2 separate regions of the Homo sapiens genome follow, and region 2 is linked to region 1. The links are contacts of gene promoters, found by promoter capture Hi-C in blood cells and fetal thymus (Javierre and others, 2016). All regions are on one chromosome and are shown on one strand. Each heading gives the region's core, a stretch centred on a gene start or on the middle of the fragment in contact. The rest is flanking DNA. Distances are from core to core; before and after follow the strand shown. Region 1 holds the start of DCAF4L2 (DDB1 and CUL4 associated factor 4 like 2). Region 2 holds the start of MMP16 (matrix metallopeptidase 16).

What was found. Contacts are between HindIII fragments. The CHiCAGO score rates a contact against its expected background, and 5 or more counts as called.
Region 2: a contact is called between a fragment that was not itself captured here and the fragment with the promoter of DCAF4L2 in region 1, in 1 of 17 cell types (endothelial precursors). The highest score is 5.1, in endothelial precursors.

What each region holds. Positions count from the first base shown.
Region 1 is chr8:87,869,504-87,875,833 of GRCh38, forward strand. It overlaps DCAF4L2 (DDB1 and CUL4 associated factor 4 like 2), which reads right to left and starts at 4,512. Exons shown (of 1, transcript NM_152418.4): 1 at 1,244-4,512. The coding sequence starts at 4,468. The coding sequence ends at 3,281. The HindIII fragment of the contact is 8,203 bases long and covers 1-6,330 here.
Region 2 is chr8:88,323,378-88,329,358 of GRCh38, forward strand. MMP16 (matrix metallopeptidase 16) reads right to left here and starts at 4,106. Exons shown (of 10, transcript NM_005941.5): 1 at 3,698-4,106. The coding sequence starts at 3,829. It overlaps LOC105375630 (a long non-coding RNA gene), which reads left to right and starts at 4,467. Exons shown (of 8, transcript XR_001745653.3): 1 at 4,467-4,521; 2 at 5,552-5,720. The HindIII fragment of the contact is 376 bases long and covers 1,144-1,519 here.

The sequences.
Region 1 (6,330 bases), core at 3,262-5,761:
CAACATGGTGAAACTCCTTCTCTACTAAAAAATACAAATATTAGGCAGGGTGCGGTGGCTCACACCTGTAATGCCAGCACTTCGGGAGGTCGAGGCGGGTGGATCACCTGAGGTCAAGAGTTTGAGACCAACCTGGCCAACATGGTGAAACCCCATCTCTAATAAAAATTAAAAATTAGCGAGGCGTGGTGGTGCCTGCCTGTAATCCCAGCTACTCAGGAGGTTGAGGCAGGAGAATCGCTTGAACCAGGAGGCAGAGGTTGCAGTGAGCCGAAATCATGCCACTGCACTCTAGCCTGGGTGACAGAGCAAGATACTGTCTCAAAAAAAGTAATAATAATAGGCCTTAATGCCTTAATTTTAAGTCTTATATCACCATCATCATTAGCTAACAGGACCTGAACTTGATTCTGCTTGCAGCTTGAAGGGAAGGTTTATCTTCTTCATGGACATTGTCGGTCTTAGTGATGCTTATTGATGGATTTTTCAAGTGTACATGTCATCCAACCCAAGAACAACTTGTTCCACATTGTTCTGGTTTCTGTGATAGTAACTTATTTTTAAAAATAATTAATTAATAGACTATTTTAGGGAAGTGTTAACATGAAATTGAACAGATAGTATAGACAGTATAAAAACTGAGCATATACCACTTCTCTACTCTGCAACTTACCCTATTATTAACATCTTGCATTAGTGTAGCACATTTGTTACAACTGATGAACCAATATTGATCATTATAATTAAGTGAAGCCTATAACTTACATTAGGGTTCATTCTTTGTGTTGTACAGTTCTATGAGCTTTGACACTGCATGTCATCCATCCATCATTACAGTATAATGCAGAATAATTTCACTACCCTAAAAATGCCTGCACTGCACCTATTGACCTCTTTCCCTTCCTGCTGAAATCTGGGAAACCACTAATATTTTTAACCATCTCTATGGTTTTGTCTTTTCCAGACTGCCATATAGTTGGAATTATACATATATATATATAGCATTTTGAGATTGGCTTCTTCATAAGTACTCATGATTCCTCCATGTCTTTTTGCAGCTTAATAGCTATTTTATTTTTATTACTAAGTAATATTCCATCATATAAGTATGTATACTAGTTTGTTTATCCATCACTTTTTGAGGAACATCTTGTTTGTTTCTGGTTTTTGGCATTTATAAATAAAGCTGCTATAAACAAAAATTGTACTAGAATAATGAATGAAAACAATACATAATCATTGCTTTATTTGCACTTATTTTATTTGCAAGTGAGGGTAAACAGATTCGCAAGTTACGTAGTCATTACATTTTCTTTTGTCAACTGCCCATAGCTGCTTTTGGACTTTTTTAAAAAAAATTACATCCGCAGCTAGTTCTTATTGAATGCTTACAATGTAAAAGGGACAATGTATACATCCTTTAAACCAATATCTACTTTATGATTTAGTTTTATTATCTAAGACATTTTACAAAGAAATAACAAGTACAGCTTACACAGTTTCCCCTGTCACACATCAAGTATCAAAAACTAATTTAACTGATTTCAAAAATCTATGCACCTAACCACTCTTTTGTATCTTCTCTATTGACCTATTCCTCTATCAATATGTAATATTACATTAACCTCATTTATGTCCTGACATCACCTCTAATCTACAGAATGGACATTTTAATAGTTGCCTAAAACTCAGCATTATTCTCTTCACCTAAAATTTTTTCACCTCAAATCCTCCCCATTTTAGTAAATGACACCAACCATCCACCAGTCCTAAAGTTAACAAAAAAGCTGCAATCTTTATGCTGTCTTTCACTTTCTAGATTACTCTCATCAGCAAATCTTACTAATACTACCTTCGAATGATCTTCCAATGCAATCATTTCTGATTTTTCTGATTATTTCTACTTCTCATAGTCAGGTCCAAGCCACAATCATTCCCTTTCCTGACCAACCTACAACAGTGTACTGTTTTCATATTTTTATTTTTGAGGTATTATATAAAGTGTGAAGTGTATAGACATACAAAATATGTATGTATCAAGGATCAAGAAAAAGAAAACAGCATTTCTAAAGTTTCCCCGTGTTACTTTCCAAACAATATCCTAAAAATAAAAGGGAAAAAAACAAACAATATCCTTTCTTCCTTCCACAGAGATACCTACTATTCAAACTGTAATCACCATAGATAAGTTTTTAGTGCTTTGGAACTTTAGAACTGAATCAGTTTGTACTCATTTCTACCTACATTTACAATCAACATGTTGAGATTAATCCACAGTTTCATATAGCAATTGTGCCTTATTTTATATTATGCTTTATCCAATTGTATGACTACAGCACAAATTATTTATCAATTTTAGCATATTGTAAAGTGAGATCATTTCCAGGCTTTGGCTATTAAGAAGTAGCCACTAACTTTATTACACGTTTTTTTGTTTTTTGTTTTTTTTGTCTTTTCTAGCTTATTGTTGGTAGAAAAACAGGCTAACACTTTGAATAAACATCTCACAAACTGCTGCTCCTAGATTACAAAAAGTCAAAGCCAATTATCTTTGACACTGAGCCCTTGAATCCTGACATTCAAGTCACAATAATAGAAACCGGAGCTGCTGTACCTTACATTCTGGAAGATGCCTCAACAAAAGCACGTTAAGGACTGTTTAAAACTTCTATTATTTAAAAAGATCCACCTTTCCTCCCATTGCCTATGGAAAATAATAAAAGGAGAATCTCAGAGATCTGCTATTGAGTTTGAGAAGGCCAAGTTTAATGATTCCAAAATGTAGCCTTAAAAACTTCTGGAGAGACTCAGATAAATGACCTCCCCCTCCTCTCCTCTCCCACTGGCCTCTTCAAGTACAGATGATGCATGTATTTCCGGAACCCAGGTAGGACTAGTCAAACAGTCTCATGCTTCTCTAAAAGGCTTCTGGTGTAAGCAGTTTTAATTTATTTTAGTTTTTGCCAATCTTCAGTCCTTAGAAAAGTGTTTTTTTGTTAAAAAAAAAAAAAAAGGGGGGGATAACTATTCTAAGGTATTCAACAAGAAAAGGAAATAGTTATCTTTTATGAAAAGGACTTTCAAGCTCTCTCAGCCCAGTTTAACTGAAACAACTTTACAGAACTATCTTCACATAAAACAGCACCTTACCCCTAGCAGCCGGATGGATGGGATCTACAAACACCGAACATCTCTTAAAATGCGCTCATAGAAACGGTAATACGATGCTCTTTACTTCTTTAAGTCAAATCCACGTTCCTCCGGGCTGCATCCTGAAGAATTAACCGTAGGAGAAACAATAAAGGTCCTCCCGGACAGCCATGAGCAGCCCTGGTGCTCCTCGGAAGCCCCCGAGGCGAGAAGAGAAGGCCACACTGGGAATGTCGTTCTCCGAGGCGGGGTATGGGGAGGGTATGGTTGTGAGCAGGTGGCCATGACGGAGGCTCCAGATTCTCGTGTAGCAGTCCTGGCCCACGGCCGCCACGACTCCTTCTTCTTCGTTCACATGCACGGGTAGGTAGGCGGAGTTATTCACATGACCTTCGTACTGTGTTACACATTTAGTGGCCCTCAAGTCCCACAGCTTGATAGTTCCAGTCATGTCTGATGACACCAGGAATTGGCCATCTTGGAGGATTTGCAGAGAAGTCACTGCTGAATCATGGGACAGGCAAATGGCCTTCCACCCGCTGCCTTGATTTCCACAGCGCAGATCAATGCCAAAGATCTCCCCAGAGCGACAGCCATTAAACAGCAAAGGAGTCATGATTGCAAACTGCTGGGCCAAGACATCACTGCTAGTCCCAAATGACTGCTGGTGTCCCGTCACCACGTTGGTCAACAGGACCTGCTGAGACAAGCCTGTACTGAAAGAGTGATACGCGTGGATGCTCAGGGACCAGGCACAGGACCAGGCATCAGGGATCTGGAAACTGCAAAGCATGCCAGGCCGACGCATTCCTGGGAAGCTACCTATGAACAGCGACGCTGGGAGCAGCACGGCACAGCTTGGAGTATCTGCAAGTCCCACGAAGCACAGCAGAAGGTGGGAATCCAAGTGATTCAGTGAGGCCCAGCACATAGAATTCACCTTCCGATTAGGGACGTAGAGGGTTTTGTGCGGGTATACCCGGAGCTCAGGGGTCGTCAGGCCTCGCATGGTGATGATGCCGTACTTGGAGCCTCCAGCTTCGACTTGGTTCACTGTGAAGAGCTGGTCAGTGTTGGTATTCGCCAGTATGCGGTTAAATCGGTCGCTTGCCAAAGAGGAGGGATCCCAGCTATGAATCTGGACCTTTTTCCTCTGCATGCAGCTTACACGCAGCTCGCGAGCTATACGGCAATAGTTGGCGAATCTGAGGAAACCTAGCTGGTTCTTTCGTAGCATGGAAGGTGCATTGAGTCCCACTCTGACTGTCTTTTTCTGCTTGTCTGCTTCCTCGAGCAGTCGCGGTCTTTTGCTCTCCATTTCGTTCGGCGGATGTTCTCCCTCCTGAGGGGAAGTTCTGTCCCGGGAGTAAGAGGAAGTACCGCTTCTTTACAAGCACGACTTGGCACGGAAGAACTTCCCGCTGCGCCTGCGCCTGTGCGTATGAGGTCGACCCGGACGAGATTCTTCGTCGCCTTGGCCCAAATCCCGAATGCTCTGAGGTGCCCTGACATAACTCTCGTTAGAATCGCGTGATCTGAAACAAGAGTTCCGCTGCTTCTCTCGAGTTTTCCCCTACTCAGACAGCTGCTTTTATTCATTTCTATTCCTGTTTAGAGATTCTTTTCCGACCCCTCTTACACACGTCATAATAGCTGTATGCATACATTTCTCTTATTTACTAAGAAGTGAAATTGGCCCAGCACTTTGGGAGGCCGAGGTGGGCGTATTACGAGGTCAGGAGTTCGAGACCAGCCTGGCCAATATGGTGAAACCCTGTCTCTACTAAAAATACAAAAATGAGCCGGGCATGGTGGCGCGCGCCTGTAGTCCCAGCTACTCGGGAGGCTAAAGCAGAAGAATCGCTTGAACGCAGGAGGCGAAGGTTGCAGTGAGCCGAGATAGCCCCACTGCACTTCAGCCTGGGCGACAAAGGGAGACACCGTCTCAAAAAAAAAAAATTTGAAAGTGGAGGGTTATTAGGTAGACATATATAGCTTAAGTAGATATTGACAAACCAATTACACTCTTGTCAAAATATGGCTTAAGTAGATATTGACAAACCAATTACACTCTTGTCAAAAGTGTATATATATCCTTGCCAATTCTTGTTGGTCAGTTTACATTTTAGATATAAATAATTTATAATTGTTTTTGTCTTCCTGTTGAAAGATTGCCATTATTATTATAAAATATTCCTTTTTAACTTTTATTTATTGATTGACTTTATTTTATTTTTGTGAGATGGAGTCGCGCTCTGTCGCCCAGGCTGGACTGCAGTGGCGTGATCTCGATTCACTGCAAGCTCCGCCTCCCGGGTTCACGCCATTCTCCTGCCTCAGCCTCCTGAGTAGCTGAGACTACAGGCGCCTGCCACCATGCCTGGCTAATTTTTTGTATTTTTAGTAGGGATGGAGTTTCACCATGTTAGCCAGGATGGTCTTGATATCCTGACCTTGTGATCCACCTGCCTTGGCCTCCCAAAGTGCTGGGATTACAGGCATGAGCCACTGCGCCCGACCAACTTTTATTTATTTTATTTTATTTTATTTTATTTTATTTTACTTTATTTTATTTTTTGAGACGGAGTCTCGCTCGTCACCCAGGCTGGAGTGCAATGGCTCTATCTCAGCTCGCTGCAAGCTCCACCTCCCGGGTTCAGGCCATTCTCCTGCCTCAGCCTCCCAAGTAGCTGGGACTACAGGCTCCGCCACCATGCCCGGCTAATTTTTTTGTATTTTTGGTAGAGATGGGGTTTCACCATCTTAGCCAGAATGGTCTCGATCTCCTGATCTGGTGATACACCCGCCTCAGCCTCCCAAAGTGCTGGGATTACAGGCTTGAGCCACCGCGCCTGGCCCAACTTTAATTTTTTTAAATCTGTGTTCTCTGATATTAAAGTATCCTTATCCTTAAACCCTTCTTGTCTAATATTTATATATGCAACCAAGATTTCTGGTTGATAGTGTTTGCTGTACCTTTTCTCACCTTTTACTTTCAACTTAAATTTGTTCTATTATGTAAATGGGTTCATATAAACAATACATTGCTGGTAAGTTTTTATCCAGTATAATAATTTTTACCTTTGAATGTGAGTGTCTAGGCAATTTAATGTTTTAACTAACCCCTTTAAAAATTCTTGAACAGTCTTAGATTTACAGGGAAATTACAAAGATAGTATA
Region 2 (5,981 bases), core at 82-2,581, 450 kb after region 1:
AATCAGTTAAGTAAATATATTGCAAGAAAAATTTAGGAAATAGTTATACTCAATTCATATTTGTCATAAAAGACCCCTTTGAAATCTAAAATATCTCTGCTTTCTTTAATCAGGAACAACAAAATCAATTTTTGCCTTATCAAGACTTTTTTTGTCACAAAAGAGTAATCATTTTATGCTTTGATATATGCATCATTTAGAATTTTATATGTTTTTATTTTACCACTAAATCAGCTTGAAAATTTTTTCCTCCCTGGAAATGTATGCTATTGTTTAGAAATTGATAAGGAATATGCTGTTCACATAAGTAATATCTGACAAACTATTCAGAGTTGACGATATGAGAGGTATTACTATCATGAACTATGTTCTGTCTCAAATTTCATAACAAAAATGCTCACAGCATACCAAAAAAAAAAGCCACAGGATCATGAAAATCCCTATATGAGATAGCTATTTTAGGAACAAAATGATTTTTAAGACAGTAGACATTAATAATTATTTGTTAATAATTTAGCTGCTTCTGACCAATGAACACCTCTGATTCAGACTGCTGTCCAATGACAACAGTTTTTGACTTTTAGTTAATATTAGCAATGTTCCCTTGCATCGTGCTAATTATCACATACTGAAAGACCAACTCTTAAAAAAGGGATCCAATGATATATGGATATCTTTACCTAAGTGAGTATATACTGAAAACTTAACAATAAAAGTGTTCCACTTGAAATGAAAGTAGAGCAGTGTATTGAATCTCTTCCATAGTACTACTCCTGGTAGTGTCTGACCCTTTCTTAGCTGTAAGAGATGTTCCTTTTTGCTTCTTAAAAAACAAGCTAACCAAGCAAAACCAAATGCACTCTCTTTCTGTAACAGGATTTCATCACCATATTAAAAATATCTCTCACTTCGATAATTGACAACTCCAAATATTTATACCCTTAAAAATCAGACAGGAAAGAGTTAACATGAATACCTCTAGCCAACCACCCTCTTCAAATCCCCCACTTCCCTGGGAAAAATATACAGTCTTAAACCTTAAATCACAGAGATAAAAAAGAATGGGGGGACCACAAATTGTTAAGTTTAGTGATGAATAAAGCAATGTAATCTTAGTTGTCAGCATAAAAAGCATCCCCCTGAAGCTTTGTTCCAACTATAAAAACTTTCTGTGCTTACTGAAAAAAAATTTTATGATCATATGAGCTTCATGCATGACTGATATCATTACTGTTTATTTTAAGACTATCCTTGAGAATCAATCAAATAAAACATTCCCAGTGTGTATGTTTTGCAACCAGAATGAGGAACACAATGTAAGTGCCTCTTCTGGAGAGGAAGTGATGGACCATTCTTCCCATTAGTGTTTCCTATCAAAAAAAAGTCAAATAGAAGTGAATCAGGCAGAAATTTATGTCAGAAAACATCCCGTCATTCTGTGTTCTTGACAATATTTCCATTTCACTAGCAGCTACTCCTACAATCTAAAAAAAAGGGGGGGTATCATTACACATAAAGAAGCTTATAAATCCAACCAAAATGAGCTCAAGAGCTTAAAAATACTATTTGAGGATAACATAAACTAAGGCATATAATCTGCTCTAAACCATGAAAAACTTCCCATTTTATTAAGCAAGATTTTAAAGGTCTGAGATGGCACATGACTTATCTGTCAGGCTTAAATCTGTGTAATAAATATGACTAGAATAATTTAAATCCTCTAAAAATGGGAAAATAACTATTTTCTCCATAAACCATTTTTCCCCACACATCTTAATGAAGAAAGAGAAGGGGTCATTGGAATCCAAAATTAAATAAAATTTGTTAGTACAATCATAACTTTTTTGCATAATAATATCTGAACTTACTGAGGGATTCCAATATAAAGAAATACAATCTTTTATGTTTAGTCTCACAAAAAATCTAATAATCATCAAAACTCATGTTATCCTAACCTCTGAAAGCAAATCTAATACTTTCCTAAAGCAGGTAACCATCAATCCAGGCTGTCCTTCCCTTCCCTTATTCAGAAAGACACAACCTTGCACTTACTTTTACCACCTCCCACACACTCCACCTCACCACCATCACCACCAACCTGAAGCAATAGGCCCTTCTGTTTATAACATTATAAATAACAGCTTGCCACTTTAATTCCTCCAGCCTATGAACTAATCCTTCATTTCAACATTAAATTATCTCTTGATTTAAATGTTAGGTACAAAAATCCATCTGTGGCACGTAATTCCAAAAGTTCAAATTTGCAATAAAAAAAGTCTGGACTTTCAAGCCCCTTTCTCTTTTTATCTAGAAAAATAAAGTTGTATTTTTCAAAGGGTTAAACCTTTTTAGTTTTCAAATTGGGTTTTTTTTGTGTAATTTATTCATACTTAATATCTGTGAAGGTCTTTAACTCTTGATAATAGCTCTTACTTTTTCAAATACTTTTTTTGTACTAACCATGACTTATTACATGAAGTCCTAAGAACAGTTTCTATAAACACAGTTATATTCAGAATATGCCTTTACACATGGCATTTATTATGCACACTCTGTGTATCAATTGGTTACATGAAGCATGTTCAAATACTGTGCAACAGGTCTTGCTATTGTGTAAACACACACTCCCAGCAAAATGACAATAAGCTTCATAATATCAACAATATAAGAAAAAAAATCACATTATTCCTTAAAAAATTATTCATAATTCGTTTGAGAGTTCAGAGGACATCAGATCTAATCAAAAGAAGTAAATGTTACTAAGACCCTCTTACTGGCTTTGTATCCCACCGTATATGTGATAAAGTTGTGTTACAGCCCAGGTGTATACACGCTTTCATTGATTTATTGCACATTACTGGCTTCAGTGCTGACTTGATGACAGGAAGAGTACTTTGGCAGAGGTCTGACAAGTCCCTATCCTTAAGTTCCCTTTTGCTTTGTGCCGTCTGTTCCCAAAGCTATCAAAGTAAAGCAAATGACAGTCTAAAACCTCCCCGTTTTGCCACGAGAGTGTGAAATCAAATTAAAAACACACCTCAAAACTATTACATTGGGCCACGTTTATTTTCAATTGGCGGGGGAGGGGGAAAGAAGACACTTAAAAAGAGATGGATTTCATGTCCTCTGTGTAGCCAGATCTAGTTACAGTGTATTAAGTTATGTCTAAATGAAAAAAAAAAAGATTCTCAAGTGTTTTATCACAAAGTAATGTTATTAAACACATCTAGTGTTCCCACGCTCTCCTCTAGATTCTTTGATTTTTAACCTCCTTTGTTAGGCACCAAACACTGGGAGAAAGATTTCAGGAACAATACCTAGGCAGCACATGATGCCAGGGAATTAATTCTGTCTTCCCCGAGCTGTTTATCCATCATAAACTCAAGCTGCCTTATTTAGCTACACGGTTGCTATATGTAGGACTTCTCTTCCCTGGGTGAAAAGCATGGACCGGCTACAATTGTGTCTTTGAGCGCGCAGCATCGTGCTTTGTGCTGCCGGGGATAACGGATTCTGGGTCTCACACGCATCCGTCACCTAAAACACCCTTAAACTGAACCAGGGTCTCCACAGCTGGAAGGGAAACAACGTGCTGGGACCCAGGCTGCTCTGAGCTACAAGGATCCCAGGAGTGAAGGAAATGTTTCAGGGAGCAGCCCAGGCAGCGGGGGGAGGAAGAAAGCCCTCGCACTCTTACCTCCACATTGAAATACTGCTCCGTTCCGCAGACTGTAGCACATAAAATCCAAAGCAAGGTTTGCAAGAAAAACACCCCCGAATGATGCACGAAATCCAACCGTCTTCCAGTGCTGAATGTGAGTAAGATCATAGTGAACTGTGCTTCAATGGATGGACGAGCTCCCCTTCGTTTTCTCCCTCTCTCCCTCTCCCTCCCTCCCTCGTTTCCTTTCAAAAAAAAGTCCTCCGGGTGGGTAAGGAGCCTGCAGGTTCACCCACAGCCGGGCAAGGGGAGGAGACAGGGGCCCCGCGCTCGGCAGCCCCCGAGAGGCAGCGGCGAAGACAGGGTCAGCAGTAGTTCCTGTTCACCATCCTCCGGGGTCAGTCACCGGGAACGTGGCGCCTAAGTTCACCGGCGGTTCCGGCTCAAAGAGCCTAGTCGCAGCCGCAGCAGCAGCAGCCGCCGCCGCCGCCGCCGCCTCCAGCCCGTGCGTCCTCCTCCTGCACTGCCTACTCCTCCTCCTCCTCCGCCGCCGCCGCCGCCCCCAGCTCCTGCGGGAAGGGCCTCCGCCGCTCCTCACTCTCTCGCCTCTGCTTCTCCTTCCCTCCTCTCCTCGCTCCCCTCCAGAATGTTCATCCGTAATCTACATAACTCCTCCTTCCCGGGGTCTGCCTGGCTCTCGGGGCCCTTGGCGCGCGCGCGCGCGCGCACACACACACACACACACACACACACAGAGACACACCGCGACACACACACACACACGCGCGCATACACACAGCCCGACACACACGCACGCGCGCTTCTTAAAGGAGACGGCTCATAAAGGATTCCCCACTACGGTAGGGCGCACCGGAGGTATCCAGCCCGCGACAAGGGCCCTGGTTTGAGCACAGCTCTTCGACAGTATCTCCCATCCCGCATCCCCGAGGCAGGCACCCAGGAACTTGGGCGGCTCCATTCTTTCTTCCCGCCCACCCTGCCGCCTCGCATCTAAAAACGAGTGCGCCCCTCTCCAGCCATGAGCTGGGTGGGGCTCAGGCTGCGGACCCTAGTGGGGCCTGGGGAGCGGCCCAACCCTGGTCCTGGAGAGCGGTCGGCATTCCTGAGGAAGCGGCCCTGGAAGAATAGGGGCGCTGGGAATCAGAGGAGCGCCTGGTCACTGAGCGCCCCTGGGTGGCTCGGGTCGGTGGCCGGGGCTGACCAAGTTTGGGAAGACTGAGATAGCAAATCCCGAACGTCCAAAACTTTGTTGGGGTCCCGAGCCTGTGGCCTGGTGTCTTCCTGAATCCCCTCTACCATAGCTACATTCCGCCTTCCAGGCTTGAGGAGTAGGCACAGGGTTTTGGTGGCGGACTAGACAAATACAGAAGCGGGATGAAAACGCTCACTTTCCAAGTGAACGGTGGACACACGCGCACAGTGGGACCCGGGAGAGATGGTCCTGGGTGTTAACAAAACATCCGATGAGAGGGATGGGGGCGCTGGAAAGAAACCGGCTGCGGGAGCCAGGGGAAGGGTTGGGGAAAGAAGGAGAAGAAGCAGCCTGAGGAAAGGCGAGTAAAGCAGCTGGCAAGGGCGGGAGGAAGAGGCTGCTCGCAGACCGAGCGGGGGAGAGGCTGGCGGGAGCTAGGAGAGCTGCAGGCAAGAGGGGGAGGCGGCTGGCAAGAAGCACGGGCGAACGCGGGCAGGGAACTTCAGAGGAGGCTGCCAGAAAGGACTGGAGCTGTAGCAGTGCGAGGCAGTGGACAGGGGGGGCAGCAACCACCAGCCCTTGGCAAGTGATGGTTTGGCTGAAAGAGGAAGGGGGAAGGGAGCGAGGCAAGCATCTGTTTGGGGGCTAATGCCAGTAAATGTGCTTCTCCTTGGCAGCCAGCAGAGGGGAAGAGGAGCCCACGGGAAAGAAAAGCAGGCGAGGTTAAGAATAAAGAGTGTTCCAGGTATGACAGCTACCTCGGTGAGGTGGAAGAGAGAATTGACAAGGCAAATTTCATGGGTGAGTTGGAAAGGCAAGAAGCAGGACTACAAGAGGTCCTATGTGGTAAGCAGATGGAAAATTCTGAGAATGGTTTGCCAAAAATTGTATTAGACTGCAATAACTTTTATCCAATAAAAGAAAAAAAGGCTGAGGAATGGGACTTTGCAGCTGTTGCTGTAAAAATGTAAGAAATGCCCACCCAACTTGACCCAAGACCCAAGAAGTTCTCAGGGAGACCTTCCTGACAGTCTGCCTTGTGCCCAGCATGTGCTGCCCACAAAATAATTTTGAAGATGTAATAAAAAGCAATGTCTTATATTGTAT